Regions from separate parts of the Homo sapiens genome. Here region 1 is linked to region 2. The links are contacts of gene promoters, found by promoter capture Hi-C in blood cells and fetal thymus (Javierre and others, 2016). All regions are on one chromosome and are shown on one strand. Each heading gives the region's core, a stretch centred on a gene start or on the middle of the fragment in contact. The rest is flanking DNA. Distances are from core to core; before and after follow the strand shown. Region 1 holds the start of LOC107986077 (a long non-coding RNA gene). Region 2 holds the start of SEC22C (SEC22 homolog C, vesicle trafficking protein).

What was found. Contacts are between HindIII fragments. The CHiCAGO score rates a contact against its expected background, and 5 or more counts as called.
Region 1: a contact is called between a fragment that was not itself captured here and the fragment with the promoter of SEC22C in region 2, in 1 of 17 cell types (fetal thymus). The highest score is 5.3, in fetal thymus.

Annotation. Positions count from the first base shown.
Region 1 is chr3:42,010,282-42,018,041 of GRCh38, forward strand. It overlaps LOC107986077 (a long non-coding RNA gene), which reads right to left and starts at 3,288. Exons shown (of 2, transcript XR_001740668.2): 1 at 3,143-3,288; 2 at 1,737-2,681. It also overlaps a transcript of TRAK1 not described here. RefSeq lists enhancers at 2,971-3,040, 4,021-4,160, 4,554-5,055 and silencers at 3,221-3,340, 3,431-3,500, 3,541-3,700, 3,761-3,830. The HindIII fragment of the contact is 945 bases long and covers 4,429-5,373 here.
Region 2 is chr3:42,579,061-42,586,884 of GRCh38, forward strand. It overlaps SEC22C (SEC22 homolog C, vesicle trafficking protein), which reads right to left and starts at 2,907. Exons shown (of 7, transcript NM_032970.4): 1 at 2,786-2,907. It also overlaps a transcript of SS18L2 not described here. RefSeq lists enhancers at 2,374-3,200, 3,193-3,322 and a silencer at 2,663-2,992. The HindIII fragment of the contact is 16,658 bases long and covers 1-3,658 here.

The DNA.
Region 1 (7,760 bases), core at 3,651-6,150, 570 kb before region 2:
ACCCATATCCTACGGGATCATTTTCCAGAAGAAAGTATCTGCCCATGAGTCCTTCTCCAATGTTGCTTTTGGGGGGAACCCCAGCTAATATAGCTAGCCTTTTAATTGCTTTTGTTGGGTCACTTTCAACATTTCCACCTTGGGTCCCTGGATGCATTCTGGGTTCCTAATGGGTAGGGATCAGATATTCTATTTTGTATTTTCCCACAGTTACTAACGAGGGCCTGGCAAATGCAAGTAAACATAGATTAATTTCGATTTGATTCAACAAAAGGAAAGAATACAGTGGCTATCTGTGGCTCAAGGGAAGCCAGTTGCCTCTGTTGCAGCTACTTCTGCCTCATGCTGGATGAAGGGAGGACTTACCAGGGCAATTACTGTTTTCCTTTCTTGTATCCATTCTGCTTCCCTCCCAGGTTCCTGTTCCACTGGCTTCCAGCAGCAGCAGGTCAGCAGCTGCTCCAAGTAGTTCATCAGCTCAGTCAGGCCCAGAACTGGGGCTGTCACTGGGGCCCCGCCTGCCATCTGCTTCCTCCAAGCTGAGAGTAGGAGAGGAAAACTGGTCCCTACTCCTCAGGGGCAGAATCCACATGCCTGTCATCTGGCACTACAGAACAAATCAGGGACTCCAAAGAATGAATGACTTCAAAATTTTCTACCAGCCTTAACTGAATCTCATAGATATAGGGAGTGACAGACAGCTGGTAAAGGTGTAAAGAAAGTAGAACATATTTGGCAGACAAGCAGTAGTTAACGGGTCTACCGCTAATTTGATGCTCCTGTGGACACACACTACTTTTCTGCCCACAGTTTCCAGAAAATGAGTAGGTTGGACTAGATGATCTCAAAGAACCCCCAGCTCTAGGATTGTTAAATTACAGAACTGGAAGGAATCTGATCGGTCAGTTATACTTCAAATAGTCTAATTTTTTTTTTTTCTTGAAAGCCTTCACTGTTGGTAACAGCACCATGTCTATTCTAGATCCACTATGAGAGCTCCAGCATATCTGCTCTGGCATGCTCCCTGATGGGCATGCCCATTTACATACAGTTTTTTTGTAATTAAAAATGATTTTTTTTGTAATTAAAAATTGCATTGAGATAATGGTAGATTCACATTCATTTCTAAGAAATAATATATTTGGGCCAGGTGCGGTGGCTCATGCCTGTAATCCCAGCACTTTGGGAGGCTGGGGCAGGTGGATCACCTGAGGTCAGGAGCTCGAGACCAGCCTGACCAACATGGTGAAACCCCATCCCTACTAAAAATGCAAAAATTAGCCAGGCATGGTGGTGCACGCCTGTAATCCCAGCTACTCAGGAGGCTGAGGCAGGAGAATTCCCTGAACCTGGGAGGTGGAGGTTGCAGTGAACTGAGATTGTGCCATTGCACTCCAGGCTGGGCAACAAGAGCAAAACTCCGTCTTGGGAAAAAAAAAATACACACACACACACACATATATATATTTGGCCTAGTTTCCCCCAATGACAACATTTGCAAAACCTTAATATGATATCATAACTAGGATATTGACATTGATACAATTTACCTATCTTATTCAGATTTTCCCAGTTTTACTTGTACTCATTTGTGTGTATATTAAGTTCTAGATAATTTTATCACCTGTACTACCATACTCAAGATGTTTAACAGTTCCAAATTCACAAGGATCCCTTGTGTTGCCCTTTTATATCATACCTGCTTTCTTTCCACCTTACTTCATTCCCCAACTTGATGGATTTTTCCAAATCTTTTTATTTGGAAATAAGTTCAAACTTACAGAAATGTTCAAGTACACTCTATATGCTGATTCACTGATAATATGCACCTTACCTTTATTGCCCACTTGGCTTTATCATTTTTTCCTATCAAGATTTTTTTTCCCCTGAATCATTTGAAGGTAAGCTGCATACATTATGACCTTTACCCTTTCAAGATACTTTAGTGTGTATTTCCCAAGAATTAGATATTCTTGTACATAATTACAGTGGAAGTTATCAACATCAGTACATTTAACATTGATCCAATACTTTAATCTCTTACATGGATTCTGATTTTGTCAGCTGGAATGTCCGTGATGTATTTCCCCTCCTCTAGCACAGGATGCAGTCTAGGATCAGGCATGGCATTTAGCTGCCCTGACTCTTTTGCACCCTTTAATCTGGAACATTTCCCAAGCTTTCTTTTGATTTTAATGACCTTGACATTTTTGAATAATACAGACCCTTCCTCTTTTTAATAGATGTTCCTCATTTTGGGTTTGTCCGATGTTTCACTATCATGATTCAGGTTATGCATTGTCCCCAGGAATACTGCATAGCTGATGTGGACATGATATCCATCTGCTCTCATTGGTGATGTAAATTTTGATCACCTGGTTAAGATGCTGTCTGCCTGCCTCTTTGTATAGTTACTATTTCCGCTTTTGCTACTAACAGGTCTAAACCATCTATGGGGAGACACATCAACCCAGACAAATATCTGCCAGCCAGTAACAGCCCCCTAGAGTAAGCATTCATGGATGATTCTTGCCTGAGCCAATCTTCACTATACACTTGATGATCTCTTCAAGTCAAGTCTATGCCAGTATGAGAAATCAGGTTTTGCAGGGTTTAGTTTCCTTACACCTTTGGTTCTGGTCTGAGTCTTCTTCAAGTCCTCCCAATGTCCTCTATGACCCCTGGGTTGAAAAGAAGTAGACTCAGTAGCCTCAACTGGAAATGAGATCATGTGGGTTGTTCCCTGTTAAACCGTCCACAAGTGATTTGCATAATAGAGTGGCCTGTGAGCTCTTACTTCCTGGATCGGTTCCTGATCCCCTCTCTGCTGTCCGCCAGCCCCCTGCCTGTCACCCTTTGGTGGCATCTTAGTCCAACAGCCAGTTCCATCCCCTCCAGCCTTCCCCCCGTCCCCGGCTCCATCCTCCCTCCATTTAAGCCTAAGGGCGGCTTTGCTAGGAGACAGCCCGCCCTGCAGGAACAGAACGCCTGGACTTCCACTGTGTTCACGACAATCAGCGCCCCGGGCCGCGGGGGTCCCATCCTTCTCTTAGACTGACTCTGGAAGGACCCCGAGAAGTGCTAGAAGTAAATAAGCGCTCGGGGAGGGATGTGATCAGCTTTTCCGGATCCAGGTCTTTACCGGATACTTCTCTGTGCCCCACGGCGTGGGTAAAAGTGCAGGGGCAGCCGCGGGCGAGGAAGGCGGGGCGCGGCTCCAGGCGACTAGGACGTGGCCGGCGGGCATCCTGGAGGGCGGCCCGCAGGTGGCGGCGCGGGGCGGCGGGCGGGGCTGGGAAGGGGGAGGGCTCGGCGCGCGTCGGGCGGTGACGGCAGCGCGGAGGGGAGGTGCAAGCCGCCCGCTCGCGGGGGAGCCATGGCGAGAGGCCGCGCGGCGGCGCCCGCAACAGTGCCCGCGTCCGCAGCAGCGCCCCCGCCCGCCGCCCCGGGGCCCACCCGGCCGCCGCCCCCGCGCGCCCCGAGCCCTTGACGCCCGCGCGCCTCAAGCGAGGCGTCCCCCAGAGTGGGGCCGCGCGCGGGAGAGCCGGAGCGCAGCCTTAGCGTCCCCGAGAGTCTCGAACGCCCCGACGACCCCCGCGTCTCGGAACCCCGGACTCCGAGCCCAGGAGCGCCAGAGCGGCAGGCGGGCAGCAGGAGGCGGCGGCGCCAGAGCGGAGCCCCCGCGAGTGCCCCCGTGCCGCCCGGCCGGCTGCAGCGGAGGGAACCGAAGCCGCCGGGCGGCCGGGGCCGGGCCGAGAACGACGCGGAGGAAGCCCCCACCGAGGCCCCCCGGCACCGCGCCTGCTGCCGGGTTGCGCTCCGTGCACCTCTTGCGGGTAAGCCAGGGGTCCGCTCACCCGCGCCGCCTGCGCCTCGGGCCCAGGGGCTGGGGAAGGACACGGGTGTTCTGGGAGTGTCCGCGTGAGATAGTGGCGGCGTGAGAGGCCGGGCGCCGGGACCCTGCGGGGACAGCCCTCCTAATGCACCGGCCGCACCTGCAGGAGGCCCTCGGAGCCCGGAAAAGTGCCCCTAGGGCATCGTGTCGGCCACGCCGCGTGGCCTGGATTCCGCGCTCCGGCACTCCGAGGTGACAGTGAGGCGACCTTCAAAGAGCCTGGAGCTGAGCGCGGGCAGCACCCCGATTCCCACTCACCCGCAAAACTTGATGAAAATGACATCATCTGAGCGTGTCAGAGAGCAGAGAGCCTTTAGAGCCCTCCTTTGCATCCTTGAGAGTTAACAAGTTTACTTTGTCACTTTCTTGACCTGATTTTTAAAGTTCTTTTCTAGTCTCCAAGGTCAAGCTCTTGCAGGTAAAAACAAATGTAATGAACTGTATCGTTTCTTCTTTTGTAAAGTTGTGTTTCAGGAAAGATGTTAAAAGTCGGCCTGCTCTTGAGGCTGGTGCTGGGTGCCCCTTCCGCTTTAAGCTTGCCTGTTTTAGAACCCGTGGCTGCACTTGTTCAGACACTGAAATTAGCGTCCGCTTTGAGAGCCTTCAGAGTATTCGTCGTTGGACCGCTGATTTTTTTTTTTTTCTGATATGCTTCACTGGAACTTTATTTGCTTCAAAAGTGTAAACGTTGTCAATACTGTCTGTGAGTGTGTATTCGGGACTGGTAACCTTTTCTGGAGGGTCTTTTGTTTATCTGGAAGGAGAGTGGAGGTTACCATAGGGAAACGGTCTAGTTCCAGGGTCCTTTCCAATTTCCAACTACAAGAGCAGCGAAGAGGAAGGTGCTCAGACTAAGCTCTGATTAGCCCTGGAGCCAGTCTGCACTGGGGAGGGTCTCCCCAGATTGAGTGAAGGGACAACAGGCTGGGAGCTTGACTGGTAGGTTTGGAGAGTTGGACCTGGAGTGACAGATGGCGCCTTCCCCTCTGTCTCTCGGTTTGGAATGGTCATACTCGGTTGCTCTTTGATCTTGGACCTCAGCTTTGTCACAGAGGTTCCCAGCCCAGTGTAGCCTAAGCCAGCTGGAAAGCTGAGCCCGGCTCTGGGGGATGCTGAATCGGTTTAAAGCCCTTGTCTCAGGGCTGCGAGTTTGGCAACAGTTGGGTTTCAGCTTGGCCCCAGCACCAGCCGTTTCCTGTTTGATGCCCCAGGGACCAGTTTCCCATCCCCAGCGCTCGCTTGAGGGTGTCTCCACTCTGGCTGTGTTGCTTCTCCTTCTCTGTGGTCTTGGAGTGGGAAACCTGGACTGAAATTCCAACTCCTCTCTATTGGCTGTGTGACCTTACTTAACCTCTCTGTCCTGCTCTCCCCTCTCTGGGAGACAATGTTTTAAATGGAGGTGTCTGTAAAAGTTTGACTGAATGACATGGGAGCGTTTTCAGGTCTCCTTCCAACATGATTGGGTTTGTAATTTGGTAAGCTTTTTGAGCCCCAACAGGGATAATAAAGCATATAATAGTAATTATTGTTTTATAGGTTTATTATGAGGGTCAAATCAGGTAATATAAAAGAGCTTTGGGCCGGGCATGGTGACTTGTGCGTGTATTCCCAGCATTTTGGGAGGCTGAGGCAGGTGGATCACTTAAGGTCAGGAGTTCGAGACCAGCCTGGCCAACATGGTGAAACCCCGTCTCTACTAAAAATACAAAAATTAGCTGGGCATGATGATGGGCACCTGTAATCCCAGCTACTAAGGAGGGTGAGTCAGGAGAATAGCTTGAATCCGGGAGGCAGAGGTTTCATTGAGCCAAGATCCCGCCACTGCACTTCAGCCAGGGCGACAGAGCAAGACCCCATCTCAAAAACAAAAACAAAAACAAAAAACATAAAAATAAAAGGGCTTTCAAAAATAATAGAGCACTATTCACATTGAATGGAGTTCTTAAACTTTCACTTTCCAAACTAACAACACCTTAAGGTTTGCCATCTTAAGTGGACTTTGTTCCTGTCATTGCATTCTGGTTTTTTGTTTTTTTTTTTCTTTTTGAGTCAGAGTGTCGCTCTGTCATCGAGGCTAGAGTGCAGTGGTGCGATCTTGGCTCACTGCGGCCTCCACCTCACAGGTTCAAGTGATTCTTTGGCCTCAGCCTCCCGAGTAGCTGGGATTGCAGGCACCTGCCACCACGCCCAGCTAATTTTTGTATTTTTAGTAGAGACGGGGTTTCACCACTTTGGCCAGGCTGGTCTCAAACTCTTGACCTCGAGTGATCTGCTGGCCATGACCTCCCAAAGTGCTGGGATTATAGGCGCAAGCCACCACTCCCAGTCCCTGTCGTTGCATTCTGAGTCCCTGCCTCTGACCTTGTATATAGTAGGCCTCTGTAATTGTTTGGTGATTCTTGAATTAACCATCTGGGCTCTCCATCTTGACTTCGTGCTCCCAAGGTAGAGAACAGACCTTGGGCATTCTCCTCTCCGTCAGCTGTCGGAGTTTTTATAGATGCGATTGTTCTGTAGCACCATATAGCTCATAAGAGAGCCAAGGAGAGTAAGCAGATAGGTGGCCAGTTTTTCTGCAAGGGACAGTTCTTTTTTTACCCTTTGGGGCTCAAGTAAGAAAGGCATTGGAGGGCGAACAGTCATTTAAACTCACTGAGAGTTGCAGATATTCAGTAAAGCCTTTTGTGCATGCCAGAGCTTAATACTGTATGGTCGGGAAGTTTGATAAACTTTAAAGTACCATGACCAGCCTCTTCACATATATGATTCTGTGACCCTTGGTTTTGAAAATGGACTCTGACCACTGGCTGCGGTGGCTCACACCTGTAATCCTAGCACTTTGGGAGGCCAAGGCAGGTGGATTGCCTGAGCTCAGGAGTTCGAGACCAGCCTGGGCAACATGGTGAAACCCCGTCTCTACTAAAACACAAAAAAAGTAGCCGGGCGTGGCAGCATGCGTGTGTAATCCCAGCGACGTGGGAGGCTGAGGTAGGAGAATTGCTTGAACCCAGGAGGTGGAGGTTGCAGTGAGCCAAGATTGTGCCATTGCACTCCTGCCTGGGCGACAGAGTGAGACTCTGTCTCAAAAACAAAACAAAACAAAAGAAAATGGACTCAGATTTATTTAACTCATCTATATTTGGCATGCACTGTGATTTTTGTAGGGAAAGACAAGAGGATGTTCTTTTTAAAAGATGGAGATAGAACCCAAGGGCTTATGTGGGTTCTTAGGTTTTATTTTATTCTTGGACAGAGATACACTGTTGTTAGACAGAGATACACTGTTGAATGAATGGGTCTTCTGGCTTCTCACCTCCTTTTCCCCCCTTCTTTTCAAACAAATGTTCCCTATTCTGACTTGTCTTCTTAGATGTATCTAAGTGGAGGCCACTTGCAGTGTTGAAAAGTGCAAATTTTAGTGAAGAGACAGTAAATAATTGCATATGTGTAAAACTGGATGTCTCCTGAGTTACACAGAATACCAATGATGTTGAGCTGCTTAAAGGCTATGATAGGCATTTTATGAAAGGCTGTGTAGTATGATTCATTATAGTGAGAAATTTATTTAATTATTATTGTTAATAGTGCACCTGAGGTGAAACAGGGTGGAATGGGGTGGGAGGGGAGCTCTTGAAATCCTTGTTTGGACTTAATTTTTTTGTTTTCAAAATTTATTATTTTTATTTTACAGTGCTGTTCCTTGCAGAGCAGGGCTAACTCATAGGCAGTGTGCCTGTAGGCAGCCTGTTTGGACTTCCTTAAACACTTTTTTTTTCTTAAATAGAGACAGGTTCTTGCTATGTAACAGGTGAAGCTGGGAATAGCCCTTCCTAGAATGCTGAGGTGGGAGGATCACTTGAGCCCA
Region 2 (7,824 bases), core at 1,657-4,156:
TGAGGTCGGGAGTTCGAGAACAGCCTGACCAACATGGAGAAACCCCGTCTCTACTAAAAATACAAAATTAGCTAGGTATGGTGGTACATGCCTGTAATCCCAGCTATTCAGAAGGCTGAGGCAGGAGAGTCACTTGAACCCAGGAGGCAGAGGTTGCAGTCAGCTGAGATTGTGCCATCACACTCCAGCCTGGGCAACAAGAGCAAAACTCCATCTCAAAACAAAACAAAACAAAACAAAACAAAAAACTAGGAAAGCAGGCTGAGCATGGTGGCTCATACCTGTCATCCCAGCATTTTGGGAGGCTGAGGCGGGAGGACTGCTTGAGTCCAAGAATTTGAGACCAGCCTGGGCAACACAATGACACCCCATCTCTACAAAAAAAAAAAAAAAAAGCCAGGCATGGTGGCACACACCTGTGGTCCCAGCTACTTGGGAGTCTGAAGTGGGAGGATCACTTGAGCTCAGGAGGTCAAGGCTGCGTGAGCTGCGACTGCATCACCGCACTCCAGCCTGGGCAACAAAGTGAGACCCTGTCTCAAAAAACAAAAAAAAAAAAAAGAAAAGAAAAAAGAAAAGAAAAGAAAATCAATTCCACAAGGACAAAGGCAGCTTCAGAATGTTCATACAAGAGACACTGGAATGTCTTCCAGATCTTACCAGATCCTTCCACAAGGCAGTGGATGTCATAACCTACCACCTTGCCTGGTACATATTAGGAAGCACTCAGTAAACACTGCTAAGTTAAATGAATGAATGACCTAAGGGCTGCCTTATTTTTGCTCACTGAAACAAGAAATGCAGGTTTACAGATCCCTTGCCATAGTTCTGATCTACAGTTTGAACACTTTTCCACAATAAATCTGTATTTGGAGAGAAAAAGAGAAAGGTTTATACAGATGAAATTTGTCTAAAAGTAGAGTGAAGTAGTAATCAAATACACAGCATCCGTGTTACTAGGTTTTATAAAAACATATTTTAATTTGCCTCCCTTATTTCCTAAATCTTCTTCCCAGCATCTGTTTATAAACTGCTCATGTCATAGATTATCTCTGTTCTATTAACAAAGACTTTATGCCTATGCTGCAGGCTACCCTTGATCCTGTTTTTTCTTCCACCTTTTACCCTTAACCCCTCCTCAAGCCCCTACCACATGCACTGAGAGAGAGAGAGGCTGAGAGAGACAGAAAGAAAGAGAAAAACAGAGAGAAAGAGAGAGATGACTGCACCTTGCAAAATAGGAATTTAGACAAAACAGGCTTCATTTGGCACACAAATATTCAAACACAAAGTGTTCACCATAAAGTATATACAGAATACAGAAGACTCAAATACACAATACAGAAGACAAAACTGAGTTGTGCCACCCTTACTGAATTCACCTTCAGCCACAGGACTTGAGAACTGGTTACCAAATCTGTAGATTCTATTAAGGCTCCAAGTTGCTTGGGGATGGAGTGAAGAGGAGGGTAGAGGTCAGTTTCGTCATTTGTTAGGAACTAAGAGGGGTAGGGAACTAAACTTGATAGGACCTTTTACACTGATAATGTTATTAAATGCTTGTAACTATAAGGTAGACATAATCTATACCGGATAGGTGGGAAAACTGCAGCTGTAAGGCTCAAGAGGTAAAGCTAGATTCAACCCAGACTTCCTTACTTCAAATATTCTAAAGCCTAGGATCTTTCCACCACATCCTTCTTCTACAAATCCAACTTTGGGAATTACAGCTACTCCCTTTCTCTAAAATAATTTCTTCTCCTTAGAGCACTAATAAGCTAATCAGAGACCTGTTGGTAGAGGAAGGAGCCTGAGATTACACTTGTTACAACTGCTCTTTATCCACTGTATTACCTTGAAGTCAGGTTGTCCTCTCTATGATCATGTTACTTTTTGAATTTAGTTGATTTCTAAGTTATTCTAAGAATAAAAAACACTGACTCCAAGATGGCTTCTGTTGCAAATGCAAACACTTAAATCAGAGCTATTAACATTGTCCAAAATGTACTTTCCAGAGGAAACACTATTTGTTTATTTAATTCTATCTGGCAACGTTAAACCATTTCCAGTTGCTTCCATTTTTCATTTTACTAAAATTATCTTTAGTGGGATCAACTCTTCTCTGCAAAATGTAATTAAATATTACCCTATATGTTGGTTCTGAGCTGTATTTTTTTCTGACCATGTCACAAATTTCACCAATTACTTTTCACACTGGCAATAGTCTTCCGTGGCTTTTATTTCTACAAACCTAATTTTTCCCCGAGTGCTTTATCCTTCTGGCTCTGGAGGTACATGTGTAAATCTGTAATGAACACAAAACCTGTAATGGAACGTCCTACACCTAGTGCTCTGAAAAGTTGGTTCAGTGTATCCAATATTTAAAGTCTAATAACACGGGCATGCTAAGGGAAGTTTGCTATTCAGATTAAACAATGCTCTGACGTGAGCTTCGTGAATGGTTAAAGAAACAATCGTCCCCTTTCTCACTCCCCATCTCTTCCAACTGGGAGAAGCCCTTGGCGCCCATCTGTCAGCCCAGGGTTCCTGCAGGCGCGTGCCTTGGGTGGCCCCGGGGTCCGGGAACAGGCTGACGGGAGAAAGGGGACAGAGGACTCCAAGAAGCCCAGTGAAGCCCCGTGGGGAGCCCCATGGTCAAGGCCGGGACTGAGGGCCGGGTGGGCCCTGGGCCGCCTCCACCTCTGGGCCCGCCCTGCGCCACACCCTAACCCGCCTGCTCTTGGCTAACGGGCCGCGGCACCCGCCTCCGCCCGCCAGCCCTCACCTCGCCCGGACGGCGGCCTTCGGAAGTCGGCGCCTGCCAGCTACCCGCCGCCTCCTCAGCAATCTTAGCCGACCGGGAGGGCTCGGCCCAGGTCACCGGCAGCCCAGGCGCAGGTAGGCCGTGGTGCGCGTGCGCGAGTCTTGAGCCACCCCACCTCCCCCCTACCCCGCATTCGCTGCTGCTAAGCGACACCCGCACCCAAACCGACCAATCCCGGCGCGCCTCCACAGCCCCCGTCCCGGCGAAGGCGCGAACGTAGTGGTTCTTAAAGGGCTGCGACCCAAACGGAGAGGGAGTGTGACGGGGGCGCGCGCCTCCCAACTTTCTTCCCACCTCCCGGCTCTCACCGCGGCGGTTTGAGATCCAAGCCTGTAATTCTCACGTCCGGAGGTGAGAAGGAGCCTTCGTGATCTAAGCTCGATTCCTGCCGGGGTAGCAACCGGACTGACGTCTGGAGGCGGGGAGGCTCCGCGTGACAGAGTGATAACGCCCGGGGCGTATGTTCTGCGGTCCGCGCGGCTGGGCGGGAGGCCCGAGATAGGCAAACCAAAGAGCACAACCTACTGCCAGCCTGGATGGGGCGCCAAAGTCCGACCCAGGGGGACACACCCCAAGCTGGGGACCGAGGCACCCACAGATGGATGACTGGCTGGAAGGAGATTAGGTAGGTAGCAGAGTCCGTCCATTTATTCATTTAGCAAGTATTGAGCACCTGCTATGTGCCAGGGGTTGTGGACAAAGCGAGGAATTCCTGACACGAAAAACTATGTTAAGAGAGGAGGCAGGGTGAGAGCACCCTTCAAACAATCAAACACCTGTATAAATACAAACTGCTCTTCAGGGAGGAGCAGGGGTTTTGGGAGAATTTACAGAAGCTTCTAGGCTGGTGTTGGGAATCACAGGAGGCTAACTAGGCAAAGGGGAGAGGAAGTGTGTTTCAGATGGAGAGATTAGCATGTATATAAGAACTCTGTGGAAGGCAGCAGAGCTCCTTTGAGGGATGAAAAGAAACCCAGAAAGGGGGAAATGGAAAGTTAGTGCTTAATAGGTACAGAATTTCAGCTGGAGAAGATGAAACAGTTCTGGAAATGGATAGTAGTGATGATCACACAACAATGTGAATGTACCAAATGCCACAGATCTGCACACTTAAAAATGGTTATGTACATTTTACCACAAAAAGAAAAGAAACTCAGAGTTTAGAGAATAAAGGAGTGGAGTGAGATCCACTAGAGCGAATAGAAGGGGCAGGACCATGTAGGATTTTATGGACCATAGTGGAAAGTTTAGGACCATAGAACACTGGTCAAAATTGCATTTTATAAAACTCACTTTGGCTGCTAAAGTGCAGATCAAAATGGAGAAGTCTCAACAGAGCTATGGTGGGACTGGCCTGGGAGCCAGTGCAGTCATCTGGGCAAGAGAGAATGGAGCTGGAGTGTGGACTAGGGTGAGAGTGAAGAAAAAGAGATCTAAGAAGGCTGCAGAGAAATGTAGGAGCAAAATCAATAGGACTTGGTGATGAGTTGGATGTGAAGGGGCGATGAAGCAGCTTCAAGGATGATGCCACTGTTCAGCCTTGGATAAATGGATGGATGGTGCAGGGATTCACAGATATGGAGAACACTGGAAGAGGAGATAAGATTGATCTTGAGCTCCATCTTAGACAAGTTGAATTTGAGGCACCTTTGAGACTTGGTTAGGATTTTGCGATGATTAGTTTTAGATGTCAACCTGACTAGGTTAAGGGATACTCAGGTAGCTGGGGGAACATTACTTCTGGGTATGTCTATGAGGGTGTTCCCAGAAGATATTGGCATTTAAGTCAATGGACTGAGTAAGGAAGATCTGTCCTCATCTAATATGCGCAGGCACCACATAATAGAACAAAAAGGCAGAGGAAAGGCAAATTCTCTACTCTGGAGTTGGGACACCCCTCTTCTGCCCTTGGCATCAGAATTCCCCGTTCCCCTAATCTCCTAACTCTAGGAGATTAGGTAGTAGAGTCCGTCCATTTATTCATTTAGCAAGTATTGAGCCTTTGGACTCCAAGACTTGTACCAGTGGTTCCCCAGGTTCTCCCGGCTTGGGCCTTGGACTGGGAGATACACCATTCAGCTTCCCTGGTTCTGAGGCCAAGTCTAAGACAGGGTAGTCTTGAACTGAAGCAGTCTACCAGCCTCCCTGGTTCTCCAGCTTGTAGATGGTCTATTGTGGGACTTCTCAGCCTCCATAACTATGTGAGCCAGTTCCCCTAATAAATCCCCTCCCATATATCTATAGATATAGATCTATATTGTAGATATATAGATATCACATTGGTTCTCTCTCTCTGGAGAACCTTGACTAATACAGATGTCAACACAGCAGGTGCATATACAGGTTGCAGGTCAATGTAGAGGTCTGGGCTGAACACAGACTTTTTTTGAGGCTGAGTCTCACTCTGTGGCCTAGGTTGGAGTTTAGTGGCACAATCTCGGCCCACTGCAACCTGCGCCTCCCAGGCTCAAGTGATTCTTCTGCCTCAGCCTCCCAAGTAGCTGGGATTACAAGCATCTGCCAACACGCCCAGCTAATTTTTGTATTTTTAGTAGAGATGGGGGTTTCACCATATTGGCCAGTTTGGTCTCGAAATCCTGGCCTCAAGTGATCTGCCCGCCTTGGCCTCCCTAAGTGCTGGGATTACAGGCGTGAGCCACCACGCCTAGCCGGGACATAGACTTTTGAAAGTCAGCATCATATGGGCGGAAATCGAAGTGGGGCTTACATAGCCAGAGAAAAATTACAAAATGAAAACTGAAGAGAATTGTGATACAGTCTAAGATAGCCTCCAGGGTTCACCACCTCCTGGGATTTATACCCTTGTGTAGTCCCCTCCCACAATGAGTCTCTGATAATGAGGGTAGGTCATAACAGGCACAAAGAAGGAGAAAAACCAGGAGATTCAGGGTTGGTAAAGGCAATTGAAAACCCTGTAGCATAAGTGCTCTTCAAATATGGGGAATTGGGGCCAGGTGTGGTGGCTCACACCTATAATCCCAGCACTTTGGGAGGCCAAGGTGGGTGGATCACGAGGTCAGGGACCAGCCTGTCCAACATGGCAAAACCCCGTCTCTATTGAAAAATTACAAAAATTAGCCGGGCGTGATGGTGGACATCTGTGATCCCAGCTACTTGGGAGGCTGAGGCAGGAGAATCACTTGAACCTGGGAGGAGGAGGCTGCAGTAAGCCGAGATCGCACCATTGCACTCCAGCCTGACCTACAAGAGCGAAACTCCATCTCAAAAAACAAACAAAACAAAACAAAACAAACAAACAAATATGGGGAATTGGGCTCTCAAAACTTGTGGTGCGAGTGCTTTAGAACAGGACCTTACACTCTCTGACTGGTGCAACTGGTGTGGTTCAGGCACCATGGTAGATTGGACAACAGGGGTGAGATGTAGTACCTAAAGTCCTAGCTCTCATCTCCAATCATTGTTCACTTTGGCTCCAGGTTCACAGTCAACTCCAGAGTCTTTCTCTTCCAGTCCTCTTCAGTCCTCCACTCCTAGGGTAACACCCTGGACCACAGAAGAGCTCCACCTCTGAAGTTATAAATGCAGACACCTGATCTTTCATCTGTCCTTCTGCTATTCTCTGAATTCCTTTCATGGTTTCTCTAGCCTGCAGAAACTTCCAGTTCATTTGTCCCTCTACTTTGTTTTATTTATAAGCTCCATCGAGTCTTCATTTCCTTCCCCATCAGCTGAGAGTTCAGGGTTTATCACCTCCATCACATTCTTCCCAATATACTTATATTCCTTGCACAGTTATCTTTCTGGCATAACTAGAAGGATAGTAACACCCATCTGGCAGCACTACAATCCTGGAAGAATCCAACCTTCTGTCTTCTCTGAATCTGCTTCTTGGCTCTAAGTGCTGCTGGACAAAATCTCACAACCACACAGATCAGTGCTACATACATTGTCAACTTCAACTAGGTCCTCAACACCTTTCAGCGCTCCTATTTGCCAAGGCAGCTCTCTCTCCAGCTCTCCCCCAAAATCAACTTCCAAATATCCTGCATGCTCCCCAGATCTCCCACTCTTCAACCCCCCCTCCCCCGCTTGCTCTCCCAGGAACCTCCGTTACTGAAGAAAGAGCAACCATCAAAGTGATGTCCCTTAGCTCCAGACAACTCCTCTCCTTCCAGCTACCACCTTCTTTCCCCTCTCCCCTTTACAACCAAACCTCATGGAAAAAGTGGTCTATATGTGAACACTCCATTGCTTCACCTTCACCTTTCATTATTTCTCAGTCCCCTGCAGTTCTGATACCTGTTTCACCATATCACTGAAAATGCCCTCCTCAAAGACCTAGTCTTTATTCTTCCTTGTTCTTTTGTTGTTGTTGTTGAGACAGAGTCTCGCTCTGTCACCCAGGCTGGAGTGCAATGGCACTGAGGCTTACTGCAACCTCTGCCTGCCGGATTCAAGTGATCCTCCAGCCTCAGCCTCCCAAGTAGCTGGGACTACAGGCCTGTGCCACCATGCCTGGCTAATTTTTGTATTTTTAGTAGAGACAGGGTTTCAACATGTTAGCCAGGCTGGTCTCAAACTCCTGACCTCAAGTGATCTGCCTACCTCGGCCTCCCAAAGTGCTGGCATTACAGGTGTGAGCCACTGCACCCACCCCTTCCTTGACCTTTCAACAGCATTTGTCATTGCTGTCCTGTATGTCCTTTTCAGTCACTGTTTAAAAAAAAAAAAAAAGCCATAACCCCCACTCTCCTGGTTTTCCTCTTCCTATATCTCTAGTCTCTTTCTCCCCTCAGTCTCCATTGCAGCTTCTTTTCCTCTGCCATAAGAGAAACTATCACATTCTCCTTAGGCAGTCTTATCCACTACATAGTTCCAGTCAGTTTCTACAAGTGATGTTTCTCAAAGCTGTATCTCCAACCTAGCCTTTGTCCCTGAGTTTCAGCCCCAAATAGCCACAAGCCTCAACATCGTTTGACATCACCTCACACTGTACATTTCCACAACTGAATATATCA